Regions from separate parts of the Homo sapiens genome. Here region 1 is linked to region 2. Evidence: promoter capture Hi-C in human tissues and cell types (Jung and others, 2019). All regions are on one chromosome and are shown on one strand. Each heading gives the region's core, a stretch centred on a gene start or on the middle of the fragment in contact. The rest is flanking DNA. Distances are from core to core; before and after follow the strand shown. Region 1 overlaps COP1-DT (COP1 divergent transcript). Region 2 holds the start of KIAA0040.

Region 1 (6,803 bases), core at 2,491-4,990, 1.1 Mb after region 2:
TCAAATATTTCTTTTGATTCACTTTATCTTTCTTTTCCCTTTGGTATTCCAATTACACATATTTTACACTTCTTGAAATTGTCTCACAGTTTGGATGTTCTGGGTTTCTTTTCATTCTTTATCTCTTTGCATTTTTGTTTGGGACGTTTTCATTGACCTATTTTCAAGTTCACTGATTATTTCCTCAGCTATGTCCAGATTAATCAGCCCATCAAAAGCATTCTTCATTTCTGTTACAGTGTCTTTGATTTCTAGCGTTTCCTTTTGATTCTTACAGTTTCTATCACTTTGCTTACATTACCCATATGTTCCTTCAGGTTGTCTAGTTTTTCCATCAGACATATAATTATGTATGTCTTTAGCATATATAATTATTTTAAATTGCCTGTCTGAGAATTTCAAAATTTGTATTATATCTGAGTGTGGTTCCATTGCTTGCTTTGTCTTGTTTGGTCCAGAAAATCATACCCAAAAGTATGGTGCTCAGTATGCTGAGCATTTTTGAATTAAAGAAAATTAGACAGTCTTAGAGGCTACCTCAGAACCAAAAACTTTATAACCTTCTTTTGTTTCCTATACCCACCACTCAGTGCAGGGAGGAGCTCAATCTGGAATTTCTTTATCTGACTGAGGAAACTTCTTTCCAAAAGAAGTGTAATTGTTTTAAGACTCTCTCCCTAGACATCTCATTAAATAATAGCAAAAGATTAACTAAGAAGAAGAGAAGAGAACACATCCAGAAAGATTTTTCATCTATTTTTCTGAGGGGAGCGCTGAGAAATTACCTGTGAGACTGTATCTGCACAATCAGACAACCTTTGTTCATAGTGCAGTTCTGCCCCTCATTTTTGTGTATCTAGTCCACAAGATATTGCTTGTCCTTAGTTTCCATTTATTGTGCAAAGAGAATCATTTACAAACAACTGACTGTTCTTTGGGCTCATTCATTTCCTCTAAAAATTATTTACAATTCCTGTAAAACTGCCTACAACCCCTAACTTCTCTCCCCCGCATAAAGATGTTATTTAAGCTTCAATCATCTGGTTCTACTTTGAGTCTCATATTTTGTATGGCTCCCACACTTATGCATGTTAATAAATTTGTACTTTTTTCATGTTATTGTTTATTGTTAGTTTATTTCAGTAAAACTTCAGACAGAATGGAAGAGAAGCTTTCCTTTAGCTCCTACGGTCTCCTCAGATTGTTTTTTCTTCTTTCTTGTTTGGTATGCCCTGTAATTTTTTGCTGAAATTAAATGTTATGTTTCAGGCGATAGGAAATGAGGTAGAAGGTCTTTAGTATGAGCGTTTCTGTTAATCTGGCTAGCAGTTGGGGTGTACTTAATATTTGTTGTAGTTATAGATTCTAGAAGCTTCAAATTCTATGTCCCTGTTTTAATCTTCCCTGTTTTCTCTGGACTTTCCTGTAGTCTCCTCAGAAAAAGTCTTGGCCTTGGATCTCTTTCAATTGTGATTCACTGTGATCACACTGGAGCCCTGTGAGTGTGGTATAACGCATGGGGAAGAAGAATTTCTACACTTGATCTTAGCCAAAAGGCTGAGAAGTGATGGGAAGAAGAATTTCTATAATCTTATAATTAAATTTCAGTCTTTTGTATAATGATGTCCCTGGACCATGACTTTCACAAATGTCTCTTAGCTTTTTTCCACCCTTACATGAGCTAGCAAGAGTGAATGGGACTGGAGTTGTCATGGATAGGATAAGTCTCTGGAAGTCTTTTTCCCTGGAGACTAGGCCTTTTTCTGGAGAATGTTCTGGATTATATGATTAGTCTCCCCTCTTCCCTCCATCCTGCTAGAGCCACAGGGGATCTTTCCTGTGCGTTTACTATGAGAATGTGGTAAGATTTCTAGAGCCAAAACTTATAAAAATATGAGGATCCCTCCAACATTGTGGCCCTCAGGAGCCTCTCATTCTTGTGCCAGTCCACACTCAGACTCTGGCATTTCACCCAAATAAGCATTTAAATGTTTCTACTATGTTATGGCTCCAGCAGCTTCTGCTTATTTAGATGTGCAGATTTCAGCTGTGTCTCTCTCCACATTTTTGGGTTGTGATTTGTCCTGTGTAGGGATGAAAAAGGAAGGCTTTCCCTCTACTCTCTGAAGGTTCACTGAAATGAACTAATAATGGACAGATTAGCAAGAGAAAAGGCATACAAATTTAGTAATGTGCAGAAGCACAGGAGCCATATGTCAATAAGAAATAATTGAAAGGATGAGAATCTAGTTTAAAAGATTTTCTTCAAACATAATGCTGTGAATGGACATCTCAGTAACACAGAAGCCAAATAAATGGGATCAGCACTAAGAAGCTGAAAAGTTAAAGCATTGCTTCTATAGGCAGAGAGCAAAAAATTGAACAGAATGACAGCATTTTCCATACAAGGCTAGTTTATGAGTTACAGTAATTTAATTTGCTTTAGCTTGTTTTATTTTCCTTTCCAACGTAGAAGGGTATCTTTAACATTTTATTTTAGGCAATGTGATAGTCATAAGGACTTTGTGTAAGAGATGTATATCTATAATCAGAAGAACAAAGGTTATAGCTGCCTAGGTTACAGCTGCTTAGATTACAATCGCCTGTCATATGACTCAGGTCTCATAATCACATTCCTTTAAGACTCAAAATCATGTAAAGTTCCAATAGCTTTGATTTTCTTTCTTTGTTTCATTTATTTTTAATATTTATTTTTTGTGGGTACATGGTAGGTGTATATATTTCTGTGGTACATGAGTTTTGAAACAGGCATGCAATGTGAAATAATCAGATCATAAAGAATGGAGTACCCATTCCATCAAGCATTTATGATTTGTGTTACAAACAATCCAATTATACTCTGTTATTTTTAAATGTACAATTAAGTTATTATGACTATAGTCACCCTGTGGTGTTATCAAATAGTAGGTCTTATTCATTCTTTCTATTTTGTGTATCCATTAACCATCTCTACTTCTTTCCCAAACCTTCCCACCCTTCCCAGACTCTGGCAACCATCCTTCTACTCTCTATGACCCTGAGTTCAATTGTTTTCATTTTTAGATTCCACAAATAAGTGAGAACATGCAATGATTGTCTTTCTGTGCCTGGCTTATTTCACTTAACATAATGATCTCCAGTTCTATCCATGTTGTTGCAAATGACAGGATCTCATTCTTGTTTTTATGGCTGAATAGTACTCCATCTGTATATGTACCACATTTTCTTTATTCGTTTGTTGATGAACACTTAGGTTGCTTCCAAATCTTAGCTATTGTAAACAGTGCTGCAACAAACATAGGAGTGCAGATATCTCTTTGAAATACAGATTTTCTTTCTTTTGGATATATACCCAGCACTGGGTTTGCTGGGTCATATAGTAGCTCTATTTTAGTTTTTTGAGGAACCTCCAAACTGTTCTTGATAGTGGTTGCACTAGTTTATGTTCCCCCCAACAGTGTACAAGGAGGGTTCCCTTTTCTCCACATCTTTGCCAGCATTCGTTATTGCCTGTCTTTTGGATAAAAGCCATTTTAACTAAGGTGAGAGGATATCTCATTGTAGTTTTGATTTGCAGTTCTCTGATGATCAATGATGTTGAACACCTTTTAATATGCCTGTTTGCCATTTGTATTTCTTCTTTTGAGAAGTGTTTATTCAGATCTTTGACCCATTTTTAAAGCTGGGTTATTAGATTTTTTTTCCCTGTAGAGTGGTTTGAGCTCCTTATATATTCTGGTTATTAATCCCTTGTCATGTAAGTAGTTCAGCTTTGATTTTGAATTACTTCTTTTTACACAAAGAAGGGCCAGATGGCTGAAGCTGATATACCCTCTTCATAGGGGAAAGAAAATTGGGGAAGAGGAAGATGGCTTTGAAAGACAATTTTTGAAGGGTGATAAATAATTTTAGGGAGGATGACTGGACCCAGGAGATGGAAATTAGCTTGCAATTGTTTCTTTGGAATTTGAATGAGAGACAGAAAATATTTTGTCATAACGTCTGTCCAGGTGTGGTTACATTCCTCAGTCTACTATATGGTAGATAATGAAATTTCAGGTAGGGGGTGGAGGGTAACTGTGTTTTTCTGGAGGAGCTTCAGATAAATGAACCTAAGGAAGACAATTTCACTCTGTGCTTAGGAGGAGGAACAGGAGAAGGCTAGAAAGTCCTTGGTTCTGAGGCTCTAGTCTAAGGTCTTTTAATTTTCTTTAGTTCATAAGTGCTCAGCACACCAAAGCACCATACTTTGGAATATCATTTTCTGAGCCCCACATCAATTCAAGAAAAATAATTGATTTTCAGTTTCTCTAGCTTTTCCTTGTTTTAACTCCAGAAGTGACAACTTTCAAGCTCTTTACATGTCCTATCTAGAACTAGAAGTCTGGGGAGAAGTATTTTATCACTGATCTTGTTTAGGATGGTTGACCCATGCTGCTAATAAAGAGTAGCCTAATTTTAAGTAGGTTTTTTTTTTTTGAGACAGGGTCTTACTCTGTCACACAGTTTGGAGTGTAGTGGTGCAATCTCGGTTCACTGCAACCTCCACCTCCCAGGCTTGAGTGGTCCTCCCACCTCAGCCTCCGGAGTAGCTGAAACCACAGGTGCGCTCCACCACACCCAGCTAATTTTTGTATTTTTAGTAGAGACAGGGTTTCACCATGTTGGTCAGTCTGGTCTTGAACTCCTGACCCCAGGCTATCCACCCACCTTGGCCTCCTAAAGTGCTGGTATTATAGGTGTTAGCCACTGTGCCATGCCTTTAGTAGGTTTTTAAATGTTAAATTCTCTACATATTATGTGCTCCTCATTGCTTCATCTCAGAAGAGCTCTCCTGTTTTTCCCTCAAGCCCTTTGTCCAAATGAAACCATTTGTCTGCTTTTCTATCATTCTTCTTCTCATTCTTTACCCACTGACTCCTACTCATCCTCTAGGTCTGGACTTAAATCTCACTTCTTTGAAGAATATCTCTCTCATTGTTTAAACTTGGTTAAATCAAAACTAGGTTAAATTATTGCATATTCCTTTGACTCTGTATGCTACCTTGGAAATATTTAAGTCTCTTGAAATTGCTTTTTAAATATAATCCTTGTGAGGGCAGGGACCATTTGTGTATTTTTAGTATCTAGCACAATTACTCACACAATGTGGGCACTGAAGAATAATGTATTGATTGATACTTGACTGAAAGGTGTGACCCAATAATTCTACATCTGGCTGAGTTTTCTTAAAAGTGTAATGGTAACAGAGAGAAATCCTTTGAGCTGTACTATTTGAAAAAATTTATTTGAATTTGTAATCCAGCTAATCAAAGGATATAACCAAATATGAAGTCATGCATAACTGGAGAAGATGTAGTATAAACAATGAATTGTCAACATTAAGTCCAGTAAAGCAAAAACATATTTAGGCCCCAAACAGACTGCAATTATTATGATTATTGAAACAAAAGCTACACGATGCAAAAATAATTTGACAATAATAAAATGAAATCTTAGAACATGACCAAAAATTGAGAGTATTAAACCTATACTGTTTTTTATCTGGAACTGATTGAGAAATATATGTTTCAGAATTAATTTAAAAATGTCAAGGTTACCAATAGTACAAAAACCAGAAAACAAATTATAACTTCCAAATTACTTAGGTAGAGGATGATGTGGGTAGCAAACAAAATAAATGAAACTACATAATAAAAGTTAGAAATCAAATAAAATACCAAGGAAGCATGAAAGAATACTAGTTAAGATGTATTCTCTCTCTATAACCACACATATACACATGCATAATTTAAAAGGAGTGAAATCTTCTACTTTTCCTCTAGTAGATGATTTCACTTAAATCAAGTAAAAAGTAGACTTTTTTAGTAGTATAAAAAAGTAGCATAAAAAACAACTTTATGCTGTTTATAGGAGACAGAGTTTTTAAAAGTGATCCTGTGAAATTAAAAGTATCAGTGTTGGCCGGGCGCAGTGGCTCAAGCCTGAAATCCCAGCATTTTGGGAGGCTGAGGCAGGCAAATCACGAGGTCAGGAGATGCCCCATCCTGGCTAACACGGTGAAACCCCATCTCTACTAAAAATACAAAAAATTAGCAGGGCGTGGTGGCGGGTGCTTGTAGTCCCAGCTACTTGGGAGGCTGAGGCAGGAGAATGGCGTGAACCCGGGAGGCGGAGCTTGCAGTGAGCCGAGATAGCACCACTGCACTATAGCATCACTGCACTCCAGCCTGGGCGACAGAGTGAGACTCCGTCTCAAAAAAAAAAAAAAAAAAAAAGTATCAGTGTAAAAAAATGCAATGAAAAAAAAAAAACTTGATGATACCAAAAAAGTCACAGTGGCTTATGCCTAAAATCGGAGGATCACTTGAGCCCAAGGTTTCAAGGCTGCAGAGAGCTAGGCTATGATCGTGCCACTGCATTGTAGCCTGGGCAACCAGAGCAAGACCCCATCTTTTAACAAAAAAGTTGAATTCAGGGCAAAAAAACACTTGTAATGATTAAGAATATAATCAAAATGAAGATGTAACTAAAATGCATGAGTCAAGCCAAAAGATTCTTTTCAGGAAAATGAAGAAAGCACACGAAAATATAATAGTAATGAAAATCTTTATCCTCTCTTGATCCTTGAGTGATAAAGAAGACAAAAAAAAATAAAGCCATAGAGAAATAAAAATAGAATAAAACTGCTCTAATTGACACGTATGTCTTTTTTGTTGTTGTTCTTGTTGTATTTTTGTTTGTTTGTTTTTGAGACAGAGTCTCACTCTGTCGCCAGGCTGGAGTGCAGTGGCGCCCTCTCG
Region 2 (6,366 bases), core at 1,618-4,117:
TCTAGCTCCAAGCTCAAGGTTTTTTCTTCCATGCAGGTCACACAAGATCCTGAGCCGAGCACTGGCAGCCAGACCTAAATAACTACTCTGTAGGGGTCTGAAATTAGTCAGAGTAGGTCATCCTTCTTGTTTTTATGAAGTCAGGACTCTCCCACACAGGGGTAGGTAACTAAAGACTTGGAGTGTGAGTTCTGGAAAGGTCTTCACAGATCTTACAACTGAACTAAGTATTAATTTTTCACATGGAGGAGTGATAATTAAATGCATCTTTACTATCTATGTGCCATGAACCCAGAATTCTCTTCTTTATTTTAGGAATTATCCTCCAAGGTATCCTGAGAAAGCCTTGAGCGTTCGGAGAAAGTCATCTGGAAGTCAACATATGATATGAAAATATCTATAGGCCACTATTGACAAATACAAGACTCTTCAGCACCAATGTGGTGCTACCACAGGCCTCTTTAGCTGCCTTCCACCTCCACCTATGTTCCAGACCTGTATACCCAACTGCTTATCTCCATCTGGACATTTCCTGGGCATATTCAACTTTAATATGCCTAAAGTGTTCATCACTGCCTTCTCCACAATCTGCTTCCCAAGCCCACTCCTTCTCTAGCTTACATGATTTTTATTAATGGCTCTACAAGGTACCTTCCCCTGCCTATCCCACTCAACACCTTATAATCACTCTCTATTCACTCATTCCTCCTTTACCACATTCACTTGGTCACCAAGTACTTCTGATTCTACTTCCTAAAATCCATTCCTTTTCCTCAGTTCCCACTGCCATTGTCTTAGCTGAGGTCTTAATTATCTCTGCTTCCCATCTCTCTAAGCCAGCCCCCATCTGGCCAATAATTCTTTTTCCAAACACAAATCTGACCGGATCCTTCCTCTGCTTAAAAACTCAAAAATGGCTTCCTATAGGAGGGAGTTCACCCTTCTCAGTCTAGCAGTGTAATTCCTATTACACGCTATTCCCTACCTGCCATTGACTTTGCATACCCTCTTTCCTTTGTTCAAAACACACTTTCCCTAGGAACTCCTAGTCATTTCCAAGACCCTGCTCATCCATCACTTCTGTGGTGTGGACTTCACAGATAATTCTGGGGAAGGATCTCCTGCCCTCTCCCCTGGATTAGTCAGTGCCCTGTAGCTACTGCTATTACAATGTATATTATCCTGAACTGCAGTTTATTTCTGTATCTGTCTCACTTACCAGACTGAAGCTCCTCAAAAACAGAAACCATCTCATTATCTTTGGACTCCAAGGCCCTGGTATACTGGCCTGCACACGGTAGGTTTGGCAAATGTTGAATGAATGTATGGAATGGATGCATCTCCCTCTTTGGTGAAATCAATAACTTAGTTTGTTGAGTGTTTATTATTCTCTTGGGTTTAGTCTTTAGGGAAGAGGACAGAAGTCATACTCATTTCACAGGCCAAATATTGACAATGCATGGAGGCCAAAGAAACTTTTGTTTTACAACGCATCTCTTTCCTAAAATTGTATCTGGGATGGGGACAGAGAGGCAGAATTTCAGACAAAAGGAAAGACTTGGTCAGATTTTCCTGTACAGCTGCCTCTCCAGCCCAGCACTGGGTGAAGGGCAGGCACATCAGACTAAGTGGTTGATGCAACTGAACCAGTTTAAAGGCTGGTAAGACGCTTGCAGAAGTCTTTAGATAGAACTTGCAAACCATTTGCAAAAGGGTTAGGAACAGGTTGCATCAATGCTATGTTTAAGTCCTGCTCTTTGTAACTCAAGGCTCTCCCATTATCTAACAGAACTTCAGAATGAGGGTTCCTTAAAATTAGCTTCAGGTCCTTATGAGCTGTAGCTGAGCAAATGAAATGCAACTGCTTTAGAAGGGAGGAGCTTCCAAGATGCTCCAGTGGTCTTTTCCTTCCCTTCCTCGTATAACGCAATCGGTGGCACAATCCCGCTAAGTAGCATGGCATGCTGGCTGCCGGTGTTCTGTTAAATTAGGGTGAGTGCTTGTCTGTGCTTCAGTTTCCCTTTCGGTTAGGCAGGACTGGTCTTCCCACTAGCTATCATCTATAGTTTACTTAACTCTATTATCATATGATGAATCCCGTAAAGCTCTTCAGAATGTTAGGGAAACAGGTCCTATTATGTCCCCCACTCTACCTTCATGGGTGGGATGGGGGGTCTGGGGGTGGGACCACTGAGAGTCAAAGAAGTTAGGAAGTAATCTGTGTCACAGCAAGCTCCCTGGAAACTCTCAGAATAGCAAACAGGTTTCCTCTCCGCCCCTGGCTCCACGCCATATTTTCGTTTTGGCTAGTTCCTTAGCTCCAGAGAAAATCTGGCTTCACCTAGAATGGTTTAGAAACACCTAAGCCCGCGATGCTTTCCGGAGGGTCTCAGGCCTTAGCTTTCTCAGTAAAAAACAGAATTTCCATGTGTCCCCTTCAAAGCGCTCCTACCGGCAGCTGGAGTAAGGTAACTCCACCGCCGACCTCCGAGGAGTTCATGTGGACTCAGCCCAGGCGCAGAGAGGAAGACTCCTGAGAGTCCTCGCGAAGGAGGGAAACACACCAGAACTAAAGTTGTGAAGGCGCAAGAGGCTACTTAGGAATAATTCCTTGTATCTCTGGGGCAGGTCTCATCCTTCTAAAGACAGGAGTGACTGGGCGTCTTCTTCCAAACAGAGGGCGCTTAAAAATGTATTTTTAAAAAACATAACAGAAAGTCCTGAAACTCACCTTTCGGTCCGCGGAAGGGCTTCCTGCAGGCCCAGGGAATCTCCTGGTTGCTGCCCCGTCTGACAGCGCCCCGGGCCCTGGAGGGAGGTGTGGGTTCCTTTTTGGTTGCCTCTGCACTCCCACCCCGAGCCAGGTCTGGCGTGTAGGGCCCCGGCGCCGGCCAAGGTCGTGGGAGCCGCCCGCCCCGCCCCGCCCCGCCCCGCTCCACCCCCGCGCGTACCTGCCGCTGCCGCCGAGGGCAGCGCCCTCTGTGTTCCCTGCCTTCCTACGGGCCGACGCCTGGCATAGTTGAGGTTTCGCTCCAACTCTGTCCTGCCCCTGATGTCACAGGCACAACTTCCTGAATCTGGCTCGCCGTTCCGCCCGCTCCAGGGGCTCGGCCCAGGCTTTCCACCCTGGGCCAGCCCACCTCGGGTGCCTCTGGCCTTGGGCGCACACGCCCCAGACGCGCCCTCCCTCCCCGTCTTCCCGCCGGTGGCTCCCCACTCCCCGCCCCCCGCCATTACGTGTCCTTGCCCCCTCAGTCCCGGAACACGCCTCCTTCAGGACACAGCGGCTGCGGAGCCAGCCCCGGTGTCTCTCACAGACGCACCAGTGTTCCAGGAATGGGACACAGAACTCCGGGCAAACCCGGCTTCAGGGAAAACAGCTGCCTAAATAGAGGGCCTTCCTGGAAGGGGTGGGAGGCGTTGGAGAGGGATACCATGCGGCAGGTTGGGTGAAGGCTCCGATGTCTTATCGGGACAAATGAGCATGACAGTCCCCTCTAGCCAACGCCGGTTGCTCCAAGGGGTGCAGGTGACATCTCAGAAGAGTCTTTGTCTCTGCTGCCTGGAGGCGCTAAGGAAAACTGCGCCCCAGGAGCTGTCTGTCACAAGCAAATGACGGAGGGGAAAGCTGACTTCAAAAAGTTCTCAGGGGTTCTTCCCTCTCATCCTCAGCTGCTCTCCATCTACTTTCTATTCAGATCTCTTGGCTCTAGTTCCGAGCACATGGGATGCTAGGAAATGAAAAGACCTGCGCCCCTTTGAATAGGGGACTCCAGACACAAAGCTCTGATGATTCAGAGCTTGTTCAGTGCCTCCAGGGATACTGTGGGTGGGAAAAGAGGGGGATGCCAGGACCTGGCTGTGGATCATTTCAGGGGCCTCCTCAGTGTCATCCTGGGAGGTCCTCCCTGACAAGGGCCTGAAATGCTGTTCCCTCGACTGTATTTGCCAGGTACACAGGTACCAGGTGCCAGGTGCTGAACCAGGACTTGCCCTCCATCGACTGTGCCTGAGTATGGGTGTCCTTTGGCTTCTCCAAGTGGGCATTAAAATGACTGCTGCAACCAACTGTCACAACTGAGATTCAAGAGATTCCTTTCTGTTTATTCAGGAGAAACCACGTGGCTCTGAGTTGAAAGGCCAAAGAGAAAACCCACCATCCAGCCTGAAACGCCAAAAATGGCTAGAAAAAGAGGAAAATAAGTTATTTATTTATTTATTTATTTATTTTTTACAGAGGAAGACTAGATTCACAAGCCGGGAGAAGCTCAAATCTGTAATGACACTTTGAGCCTGCAGTTGTCTACCTATGTACAATGTACCTATGTACCTATGTAGGTTCCTCTAAAACTCCTGGAGCCTAAGGCCAGAGTATAGAGTCTAACAGGGCCATGAGGAAGACAGGCCTGGGATGGATGATAGTAAGGCCTTGAATGCTGGCCTGAAAATTTGGGAATGGGGATCTCCTGCCTGGAGGTTTACACACAGTGTATCATTCAACCTTTCACAACACATTTATGAGAGGTAGTATTATCCTCATTGTACAGGTGAGGAAATTGTGGTTGAGAGGAAGCTAAGGAAGTTCCTCAAGGTCACATAGCTAATAAATGGTAGAGCCAGGTTTGAATCCAAGTGTTTCCAACCGCCGCTCCCCCTGACCCAGTGCATCCTTTTACCACCATATCATCTAGTAGAGGAGGAACTTGCCTTCTGTGAAGGAATTCCACACTTGAGCAGGGATCATGTACAGGTCTTGAATGACGCCTATTGCGGGGAGGCCATAGAAAATACTTTCCTGAAAGTCTGGAGCAACATTACAGATTGGTTCTGGCCAGGGTGATGGGTATGTAGGGTTGCTTTTAAGAGAAAAGAGGAAGAAACTAAATGAGAAAAACAGGGGCAATCGAATTGAGCTCAGGGCTTCATGGACATGGTTGTCTGATCGTAGAAAGGAAACCAGGGCCATCCATAAGATGGTATCTCTAGCTATCTCAATTCATAAGGAGAAAAGTCTAATGCTGAAAACCAGAAAATTCTGTGGCAGAGAAATCAGGGACTTATAGGTGGGCTGGATGGTGGATTTACTCACACTAGACTGCCAAGGCTGCAAAGTCTGTTGCTGTATTGACACTACTAGAAGATGCAATTATGCAGAAGAAAAGAAGTGGGCATCTGGCAAGGATGTTTTCACCCTGGATGAATGATGTGTTCCTTATGAAAAAGCAGGTTGGAACACCCACCTACTATTTTATTCCTTGGCAGTAAAATCCTAACTCCTATGAACTCATGAACAGCCCCAGGCAGCAACAGGGCTACTACGTTTTGCTTAATCCTTATTATTTTTCTTGTTTTCAGTAAGGATATTTGAAGTTGGTCAAGAGCTTAGTGGGCACTAAATGGAGTAGAACAAAATATTAACTTTTTTTTTTTTTAAAAAAAGAAGCCAAAATAAAGCAGATTTGTGCACTGAGACTGGAAATTGGAACCCCTTTTTGACCACTCCTCACTAGCTTTAGCACCTGCTGATCTCTGGTTTCACATCAGTATGTTGCAGAAAACAGGGGTTGCCTCCCTCTCAGATACTGTAAAAATCAGTGGAGTGCTAAGTATTGAACTTAGTCTGCTTTGAAGCTAAGACTGACTACACTTGGATTTCTTTCTTGGCAATGCCCTATTTCAGACAGGTTAACTTGCAGTATTGGCCAGTACTGATCCACCCGTGCTGCCTGGAGACAGTTTCCCATGAGTTTGCAAACCCAGAGTCTAGAAGCTGTGTCTTTTATAATGTGGTTGCATCCAGGACAGTGCTGCACAAAATTGGACACATTTTTCAGGTGTGGGAAATTTTAAATTGAGAACATCATTTTACTCTTACCAATAACTGTGGTGTATTCTTGCCTGCAACACTGTGAGAGGGTCTAGAAGGTTAAAACGGGGATAGGGAAAGTCCCCAAATAGCAACATGGATGTTCTGAGGAACTGAGTAGAAGTCACAGGGCTGCTGACAAGGAGAAGGCTGTTAGGAGGAAATGATCAGACTATAAATGGTGTGGATATGATGAGCACAGACTTGTTCATCAGATCCTGAAATATAGCAGTGCTTTGGAACCACGAGTGGGGCAAGTTCAGGACAAGTCAGCGGAAATACTACTTCATGCAGCAGGTAATAAATTTATGGAATGAATTATCTCCCAGAGGTGGTACAAACTGGCAACATAAATGGATTCCAGAAGAGTGAATGGCAGAGGCATAAAGAGAGCTGCAGGAAGCAGAGATATACTCCATGTGGTGGGGAGTTCAGGGTGGCCCAATGAGGCCTTACACAGTGTGTACCTGGGGGTCTTTGTGGTCAAAGAGTCCTGGCCT

Evidence for each region. Contacts are between HindIII fragments. The study calls those that stand out against the background at their distance.
Region 1: a contact is called between a fragment that was not itself captured here and the fragment with the promoter of KIAA0040 in region 2, in 1 of the 25 tissues and cell types used here (heart right ventricle).

Annotation. Positions count from the first base shown.
Region 1 is chr1:176,242,461-176,249,263 of GRCh38, forward strand. The region is part of intron 4 of COP1-DT (COP1 divergent transcript); the gene reads left to right. It also overlaps the pseudogene RNU2-12P. Among named protein-coding and RNA genes, the nearest start is that of COP1-DT, 38 kb to the left of the region's middle. The HindIII fragment of the contact is 5,280 bases long and covers 1,101-6,380 here.
Region 2 is chr1:175,189,909-175,196,274 of GRCh38, forward strand. It overlaps KIAA0040, which reads right to left and starts at 2,868. Exons shown (of 4, transcript NM_014656.3): 1 at 2,732-2,868. RefSeq lists enhancers at 2,071-2,120, 2,261-2,310, 2,551-2,700, 3,421-3,530. The HindIII fragment of the contact is 10,092 bases long and covers 1-6,366 here.